Linked DNA regions of Homo sapiens: all the other regions are linked to region 1. Evidence: promoter capture Hi-C in 16 types of primary human blood cells and fetal thymus (Javierre and others, 2016). All regions are on one chromosome and are shown on one strand. The core of a region is centred on a gene start or on the middle of the fragment in contact, and the rest is flanking DNA. Distances in the headings are between cores, read along the strand shown.

What was found. The method cuts DNA at HindIII sites, captures the fragments that hold promoters and counts their contacts. A CHiCAGO score of 5 or more calls a contact.
Region 2: a fragment that was not itself captured here is called in contact with the fragment with the promoter of AQR in region 1 in 6 of 17 cell types (naive CD8 T cells, total CD4 T cells, total B cells and 3 more); the score reaches 14.1 in naive CD8 T cells.
Region 3: a fragment that was not itself captured here is called in contact with the fragment with the promoter of AQR in region 1 in 1 of 17 cell types (total CD4 T cells); the score reaches 5.1 in total CD4 T cells.

What each region holds. Positions count from the first base shown.
Region 1 is chr15:34,968,354-34,971,225 of GRCh38, reverse strand. AQR (aquarius intron-binding spliceosomal factor) reads left to right here and starts at 1,484. Exons shown (of 35, transcript NM_014691.3): 1 at 1,484-1,687. The coding sequence starts at 1,613. RefSeq lists enhancers at 1,381-1,490, 1,541-1,690, 2,859-2,872. The HindIII fragment of the contact is 5,969 bases long and covers 1-2,509 here.
Region 2 is chr15:49,621,807-49,624,678 of GRCh38, reverse strand. The region is part of intron 1 of DTWD1 (DTW motif tRNA-uridine aminocarboxypropyltransferase 1); the gene reads right to left. Among named protein-coding and RNA genes, the nearest start is that of DTWD1, 2.2 kb to the right of the region's middle. The HindIII fragment of the contact is 493 bases long and covers 1,256-1,748 here.
Region 3 is chr15:45,407,854-45,410,725 of GRCh38, reverse strand. AFG2B (AAA ATPase AFG2B) reads right to left here. Exons shown (of 8, transcript NM_024063.3): 3 at 196-354. Among named protein-coding and RNA genes, the nearest start is that of AFG2B, 7.0 kb to the right of the region's middle. The HindIII fragment of the contact is 2,095 bases long and covers 314-2,408 here.

The DNA of each region.
Region 1 (2,872 bases), core at 235-2,734:
AGAGCAAAGGAAGTATATGTCCACATGAAGACTTATACACAAATGCTCATAGTGGCTTTATTTGTAATAACTGAGAACTTGGAACAACTCAAATGTCTATCAGCAGATGAATAGTTTATCAAACTGTGGTATATCAGTAAAATGGAACGAATGTTAAGCAATAAAAAAGGAATGAACTACTGATACATGCAACAACATGAATCCATCTCAAAATCATTTCGTTGAGTGAAAGAAGGCATGCACTGTATTATTTCATTTATATAAAATTCCATGAAAAGCAAACTATAGTGACAGAAAGCAGATCAGTGGTTGCCTGAAAAGTGGGTGGGAACAGTGAAAGGCACAGATAGCAAAAGTTCACGAGGAAACTTTTAGAGGCTTTGATATGCTCATTATGATTTTGGCAATAGTTTCACAAATGTATGTTCATGTCAAAACGCATCAAATTTTACAACCTAAATATGTGTGGGTTATTGTATGTGAATTATTTTTATTATTATTTTATTTTTATTTTTTGAGGCTAGTCTCGCTCTGTCACCAAGCTGGAGTGCAATGGCGCAATCTCGGCTCACTGCAACCTCCGCCTCCCAGCTTCAAGTGATTATTCTCCTGAATCCGAGTAGCTGGAACTACAGGCGCGCGCCACCACGCCCGGCTAAATTTTGTTTTTTAGTAGAGATGGGTTTTCACCATGTTAGCCAGGCTGGTCTCAAACTCCTGACCTCAGGCAATCGGCCAGCTTCAGCCTCCCAAAACGCTGGGATTACAGGCGTGACTACCGCGCCTGGCTGGGTTATTGTATGTCAATTTTTACCTCCATAAAACTGTTAAGGCCTGTAATCCCTGCACTTTGGGACCCTGAGGCAGGCGGATTACCTAAAGTTGGTGAGTTCGAGACCAGCCTGACCAATACGGAGAAACCCTGTGTCTACTAAAAATACAAAAATTAGCTGTGCATGGTGGCGCATGCCTGTAATCCCAACAACACGGGAGGCTGAGGCAGGAGAATCGCTTGAACCCGGGAGGCAGAGGTTGCTGTGAGCCGAGATTGCACCATTGCATTGCAGCCTGGGCAACAAGAGCGAAACTCCGTCTCAAAAAAAACAAAACTAAACTAAAACACTGTTAAGGGCAGTTAAAACCCAGCCCATATTCCCAGGCTGTTTTTTTTGTTTTGTTTTGTTTTTTCTTTAGGGTTGAAAAAAAACTAAATCCCCATTCACCGCACACGGCACTCTTCACTAACCACGAGAAACCCCACCCAACACCATCCACCGGGTCCCTCCCTTGCCCTCCTAATCCCGCCAGCGAGGTGTCTTCTCTCTGCCGCCCGCTAGAGGGCGTGTACAGAGGAGGTCAAAGCTCTTGGCTCGCTAGCTCAGCCCCAACGCCTGCATGAACTTCCGGCTACACGCCATTCCGCTTCCCGAGGAACGCTTGGGCTGTTGTACGGGTTCCCTACGGGACTCTGAAGGCTGAGGATATCCGGCCCGGAGCGTTTGTGCGGCGCGGAGTTAAGCGCCCCGGCAGTAACTTAAGGGAAGTGGACCAGGGTTGCCGCTGCCCAGAGCGGTCCTTTAGTTTCCACTGGAGTGGAGGGAAGAGTGCTGCCATGGCAGCCCCTGCGCAGCCCAAGAAGATCGTGGCCCCTACGGTGTCCCAAATCAATGCGGAGTTCGTGACCCAGGTGAGCTCGGGCGAGTCTGGTGTGTGTGAGTGGGTATGGACGTCGTGGCCCCGAGGCCTGGTGGTGGGGTTTTTTTTCAGGATTTAGGAGTCCGGAGGAGGCATTCGTTTGTTAATTGATTCACACACGTCTTTTTACTGAGTATCAGCTCCGTGCCGGCCACTATGCTAGGTGCTGGGCATACCGTGGTGAAAGAAGCTGCCCTGCCCTGGGGAGTTCATGGCCCAAGGAAGACAGACGCATGAAAATAAAACTACTGTATGAGTTTTGCTGTGTTGGAGTTTGTCTCAGGAGCAATGGATTCAGAGAGGAGGGAACACCCCAGTCTATCTGAGACTGGCAAGTAGGCTTCGCAGCAGAGTGATGCTGGACTGCCTCTTCAAGTAGGAGTAGGCTTTTTCCTGGTCCTTAGAGTGTCCTGAGTTTTTGAGCAGCGATGAGAAACTGACAAGACACCTCCAAATAGACCTATCTAAAAACAGAGTAATTCTGTAGTTTGAGAGCGTTCATTTAGAATCTGTTTACTATCTTGCATTGTGAGCCACAGTTGGCTTTGGATAGGGAACCACAGTCCTGTGGTTGTCAGCATCATTCCTCATTCTTATTATTTATTTGTGAATTGCATAAGAGTGTAAGTAGTTCAATGTAGAAGTTATCATGCCCACCTGCTTCTTTATTCTTTATTCCTTGTCTCAACAGATTTGCCAGGGCAGAAGCCTAGGGAGTGATTTTGAATCCTCCCTTTCCCTTAGTCCCTACATTTCTACATTCTAAATATCTTTTGAATCTATCTGGTGTTCTACATCTCTGTCACCCTAAGCTTGGTTGCCATTGTTTTCTGCCTGGACCAAGGTATCGTAATCTGTTATATTGTCCTTCCTCTTGCTCTGCTCTAGCCCATTCTTCATGTTGCTTTCCGAGTGATTTCATACAAGTGCAAATCTCATCATATCACTTGCCTTCTTAAAATTTCTGCCTTCCGGCCGGGCGCAGGGGCTCACGCCTGTAATCCCAGCACTTTGGGAGGCCGAGGCGGGCGGATCACGAGGTCAGGAGATCGAGACCATCCTGGCTAACACGGTGAAACCCCGTCTCTACTAAAAATAAAAAGAAAAAAAATTAGCCGGGCATGGTGGCAGGTGCCTTTGGTCCCAGCTACTCGGGAGGCTGAGGCAGGAGAATGGC
Region 2 (2,872 bases), core at 253-2,752, about 15 Mb before region 1:
TACATATGTGTGAGTGTGTCTGTGTACATGTGTGCATATACATATAAAACTTCATATCCAATAAAAAATAAGAGGCATCTACTACTCATTACAATTTGTAAAATATCCCATAAGGTAAAATATATTATCCTATAAATTTTAAAAATTTACAGAGTAACATTAATGTCCACTTACTCTAAGAATTTATGTTTTTTAAAAACATACATCATTCAGATTCTTTAGTACTAGAGAAAAATGGTAAAATAACTTTCCCACTTAATATTTTCTTCAAAGAAGGGTGATGGCTGCCAAAATTGCTATCTGTATACCCTGTAAGGAAGATATCTTTCAAGGGAGAAACAACACTGGTGCCCTATTGATTCGATATGCATTCCACAGCTGTAAAATAATTCTCTTATTATAAAGCCTTCTGGCATTGTGGTTTAACTACGAAGCTCCAGGCACTTTAAGTAGAAACAGGGACAAGAGAAATGCTGTGACTCCAGCAGGAAACATTTTGTGGTCTCCCAAACAGAAAGTGAACAAAAAGTCCAGAGAAACATAAAATACAACATAATTTGCTGAGAAGAAGTTAGTGGCACTAATTTAATTACTCATCAAATGAATTTTTCTTTTTCTTTTTTTTTTTAAGATTGTAAGTCCCAGTGAGTTTGAGATACAAATAAAGAGATACAAAAACGCCGGTTATAGTAGAAAAAGGCACTTGCCAAATGTACCCAAGGGGAAAAACAAAATACAGTAAATATTTTTGCTGTGTACTGATTACGCACAGATTTGCATTTTGGGTAAGAAAGCAGTATTTAAGAACAATGGTCCAATCCCTTGTTCCTGCCTCACAAATAGAAAATCTTACCTACTTCTGACTGCCACTCCAACTCACCTGCCTAAAAATGGCTTTGATCTTTGTGATCATGCCCTCAATGACTGAAAGTGCAGGATATTAAGATGCCCTCTTTTCTTGAGCCTCAGATTCTTTTAGGAATCACATGAAAATATTAAACCGCATCCCTAGAAAATGCATATACAGACACAATATTTTGCACACAATTTCAGGAGGTTTGGAGATCTCCTAGAGTCCATCTACGACCCAGGTAAGGAAGTTCCAAGCTTGGGAAGGGCCACGCATGGTGGCTCATGCCTATAATACTAGCATTTGGGAGGTTAAGGTGGGAGGATTACTTGAGCACAAGAGTTTGAGAACAGTCTGGACAACAAAGTGAGATCCCATCTCTAAAACAGAGAAAAAAAAAAAGCTTGGGAAGAGATCCTAATAGTCCCCAGAAATGAGAGTTGCAAATGCTCTGTTGGCGTCTCTTTGCTGCACATACGAAGCTAAGTTTCACCTAAACTCTCTTTGGGTTTGTCCTGGTGTTGCCTGAGGTTCTTACAGAGAAACATTTTGAGGCTTTAATAGTCCTGAGTTATTCAGATGATGGGATTCATCCTAAAAAATGAAATTTGATTGGAGTAGCTCAACCTGACTTCATTTCCCTGGGTAATGGAGTAGCTATTTAGTGGGAATGCATGTACCACTCAAAGGCCCAGGCATAGTGGGACTGAAAAATGTAGTTCCTGTGGATGTCATGAAAGTTACTGTGGTTGCCTGACATTTAACAGAAAACTACTGGTGAGTTTTTGGAGTTATCCTAGGGCACTGAAAGTGCATTCCTCCTAGAGATACCTCAGAAATATCACTTTGCAGTTCATGGACCTGCTATCCACATAACTAAATGGATATTAGTGAAGCTTTATATAAATAACCTTCCTCTAGAAAAATCAACCACCACAAATACCTGTAAGACAGTAAAAGAGAAATGTTTATGGCTCCACCTCTTAGTTCACCTATATACTCTCACTTATGGCTGAGGTGGCCACGTAGAAGAGGCCAGCAATTGTAAATCATGGGCAGCTCCCTCCAGTGGTCTCTGAAACTACATGATCAGGGCATCTGTCCTAACCGAGCCAACAGCCTGCCTCGACTGTGAGAAAATCATTGCAAATGATTTTATTGCAAATGGGGTTATTTAAAATTTTTAAAACATACTTGTTAACATCAAATATGTGCAAGGAAGTACAATTTGAGTCATGGGGGCTAAAAAGACTTAGAAAACATAAAGACTGTTCCTAAGGAACTAACAATTTTAACACCTTGATGGTGCGTCCATCATTCTGGAACTTAAGGCTAAAAATACATTAATTTTTTATTCCTCCTTCTACCCAATTTCCACCCCAAATTAATTATACTCACCAAGTTGCATCTACCTTGTATATAATCCTCTATCTTCACTCTCAAAGTCAGGATTCTAATTCAGTTCCTTATTAACTCATAGATGGGCCACAGCAATGTCTTAAACCTCTTTGAGTACTTATTATTAGTTCCACATATTTGACATGGAAAAATGCATTTATTGTGGAGGTACTTTAGTGAATCTATCCCCTCCAGCATTCAACTCTGTAAGAGCAGATTCCTTCCCTGATCTCACCTATTCCTGATTCTTATGCAACAGCAGGAACTCAACAAACACTTGTTAACTAAATCAAAACCATTCTGCAAAACACATCCAGTAAGCATCTCACTACTGAAGTATCTGACAAACTACCTTTATGGGCCGTCTGCAGCCTAGCACAAGTGGCAGGCTGGCAATTTTTTTTTCTCCAAAATAATAACAAAAAGCTTCTACCTCTTCCATTATTGTAAGCTGACTCACCTCCCAATGGAACACTATACAGACTCCCCTGTCCTATATTGTGGACCAATTCAGTATTAGAAAAAAACCACTTCCAATTTTCTTTAGAGTGTTTTTAAGAACTTGGTCACATAGGACCTACAGGTCCAACATTCATTTTTCATAATCCAAGGTAGTAGTACCCT
Region 3 (2,872 bases), core at 112-2,611, about 10 Mb before region 1:
GAAATTATAAAAACCAGTTTAGACATCCACAGAAGTCCAATTAAATAAGGACTGAAAAGCAATCATTGGATTTAGATGTTAGGATCACATTAGTGATAGGAGCAAGAGCAGTTTCAGCGCAGTATGTTGTCATCATAAATGCACAGAATGTTAATCTGTAATATCCTACTGGATTAAGTAGATTATCTGTCTTACCTGTTTTAACTTCAGTTTTACATCTTCAAGGCCACCAATCTCCTCCCAGTCAACAGGCTTGATATCCATTAATCCAATGACGCTTCGAAACGATGAGGGCTGAATATTTTTAAAAGCTTCAAGGAAGTCTATTTCATCAATCACAGGATTGTCCTGGTTCTGAAGAAATACACCCAAAAAAGCAAAATCAAACCAAAAATTAGGTTGGTCTTTTTTTATAGCACAATTTGTTTTTAAAATCTTCTTTTGGATTTGTAAAGTTATTTTGTTATCATTATAAAAACAATTTATATACATAGTACAAAGAATTAAATGTCTCCCTGCCAATTCCTGCCAGTAATTCTTCCCCGAAAGATGTCAAGAGTTTGTGTATTTTTCCAGTATGTTATGCTAGTAAGCATACATATATCCTTTTAAACAGATACACAAATGGAACCATACTATATCAGCCTGTACTTTTCTTCTTTCACCTATCTTAGAGAGCTTTTCATGTCAACTAACACAGTTCTACGTCATTCTTTTTGACAATTCCATAATACACTACTGAATTTACCCCAACTACACCTTTCTGACAAACGTTAGGTCATCCCCAGTCTTTAGATATTAAAAACAAAGCTGCAACTGAAAAAGTCTTTGTGCTCATGTTCAAGTATTTGTTTATTTTGAGACAGGGTCTCACTCTGTTACCCAGGCTGGAATGCAGTGATGTTATCATAGCTCACTGCAGTCTCCCAGGCTCAAGTAATCCTTGCACCTCACCCTCCGGAGTAGCTAGAACTACAGGTATGTGCCACCAGCCTGGCTAATTAAAAAAATATATATATTTTTTTTTTGTAGAGATGCGGTCTCCCTATGTTGCCCAGGCTGGTCTGGAACTCATGGGCTCGAGCGATCCTCCCACCTCAGCCTCCCAAAGTGCTGGGATTACAGGCATGAGCCACCATGTTCAAACTCATGTTCAAGTATTTTATGTAATAATTTCCTCAAAGTAGAATTACTGGGTTTACAAGTACACACATATACAATTTTGACAGCTATTACCAAATTGTCCTCTAAGGAAGCTGCAACAATTTATTCTTCTCCGATAATATGAAGCTGTGTTCTCTCCACACCTCTCCAGTACAGACATTATCAAACTCTTTTTTTTTTTTTTTTTGGCGGGGTCTCACTCTGTCACCCAGGTTGGAGTGCAGTGCTGTGATCTTGGCTCCCTGCAGCCTCCGCCTCCTGGGTTCAAATGATTCTCGTGCCTCAGCCTACCGAGTAGCTGGGATTTATAGGCATGAGCCACCACACCTGACTAATTTTTGTATTTTTAGCAGAGACGGGGTTTCCCCATGTTGGCCAGGCTGGTCTTGAACTCCTGACCTCAACTGACCCACCCATCTCAGCCTCCCAAAGTGCTGGGATTATAGGTGTGAGCCACCGCACGTGGCCCATTTCCAAACTCTTAAATGTCTGCCAATATGACAGGAAGAACCAGTACTCATTCATTACTGTGTTAACTAAATTTCTTCAATTCAAAATGAGGTAGAGGGAATATTGGAATTAAAAAAATCGCCCGTCTTGCAATCATGATAGTAAAGGCTGTTATGAGCAAGAATTGGATGCTATGTTGAGGGGAGTAAAAGTTTATTCATTTATGAGACAGGGTCTTGCTCTGCTGCCCAGGCTGGAGTGCAGTGGCATTGAGGCAACAGCTCATTGAGCCTCGAACACCTGGGCTCAAGTGATCATTCTATCTCAGCCTCCTGAGCAGCTGGGACTACAGGTGTAAGCCACTGTGCCCAGCCTGAAAGTTTGATGAGGAGCAGGATATCTCAAAGTGTCTCCCCACAGATTTCTCATTAGTGGCAAAGGGAAAAATAGCAGTTCCACAGTGGAGAAACTGCGCACTGCCTGAACTAGTTGATAAAAGTTAGCATCACCAATGAGGAACCAATGTACACTCTGTGCCTCTACATGTGAGGCTCTAAGGACACAACACTATACATCACCATACTGTGGTGACATATGGGAACATTTCTGTTCTTAGGAAATAGACATTAAAATGTTAAGGGATAAAGTGTCATGATATATGCAACCCATTCTCTCAAATAGTCCAAAATAAATAAATACTATGTGCATATAAATACATATATATGGAGATGACAGAGAGAGAGAGAAAGAGAAGAGGAGAGGGAGCAAGGAGAGCAAAAGAGAATGATAAAGCTTATTTGGCAAAAAGTTAAAAATTGGTGAATTTGGATAAAGGGTTTAGTGGAAGTTCTTTGTAACTATCTTGCAACTTTCCTATAAGTTTTAATTATTTCAAAATAAAGACAATAATTTTAGAAGAAATCAAGGTTGAACATCTTTCATGTTTATTGTCATTCCTTTTATTGTCAACTACCTGTTCATACCCCATTACCCATTTTCTCTTGGACTGTTGGTCTTTTCTTACTGATTTGTAAGATTTGTTCATTCCCTATCAAGGAAATTGGACTAAAAGTATTTTTCCTAGTCTGACTACTTTATAGTATTGTTTTGCCACCCCCAAATGGTCAACTCAGCAAATAATCTCTTTTTTGGCTATTAAGGTTTATGTTATGCCTAGAGAAGTCGTCTTCACTCTCAGGTTATATTTTGGAGACTCTTTACATTCTCCTTGATCATTCTAGTGAAACACATTTTTTTT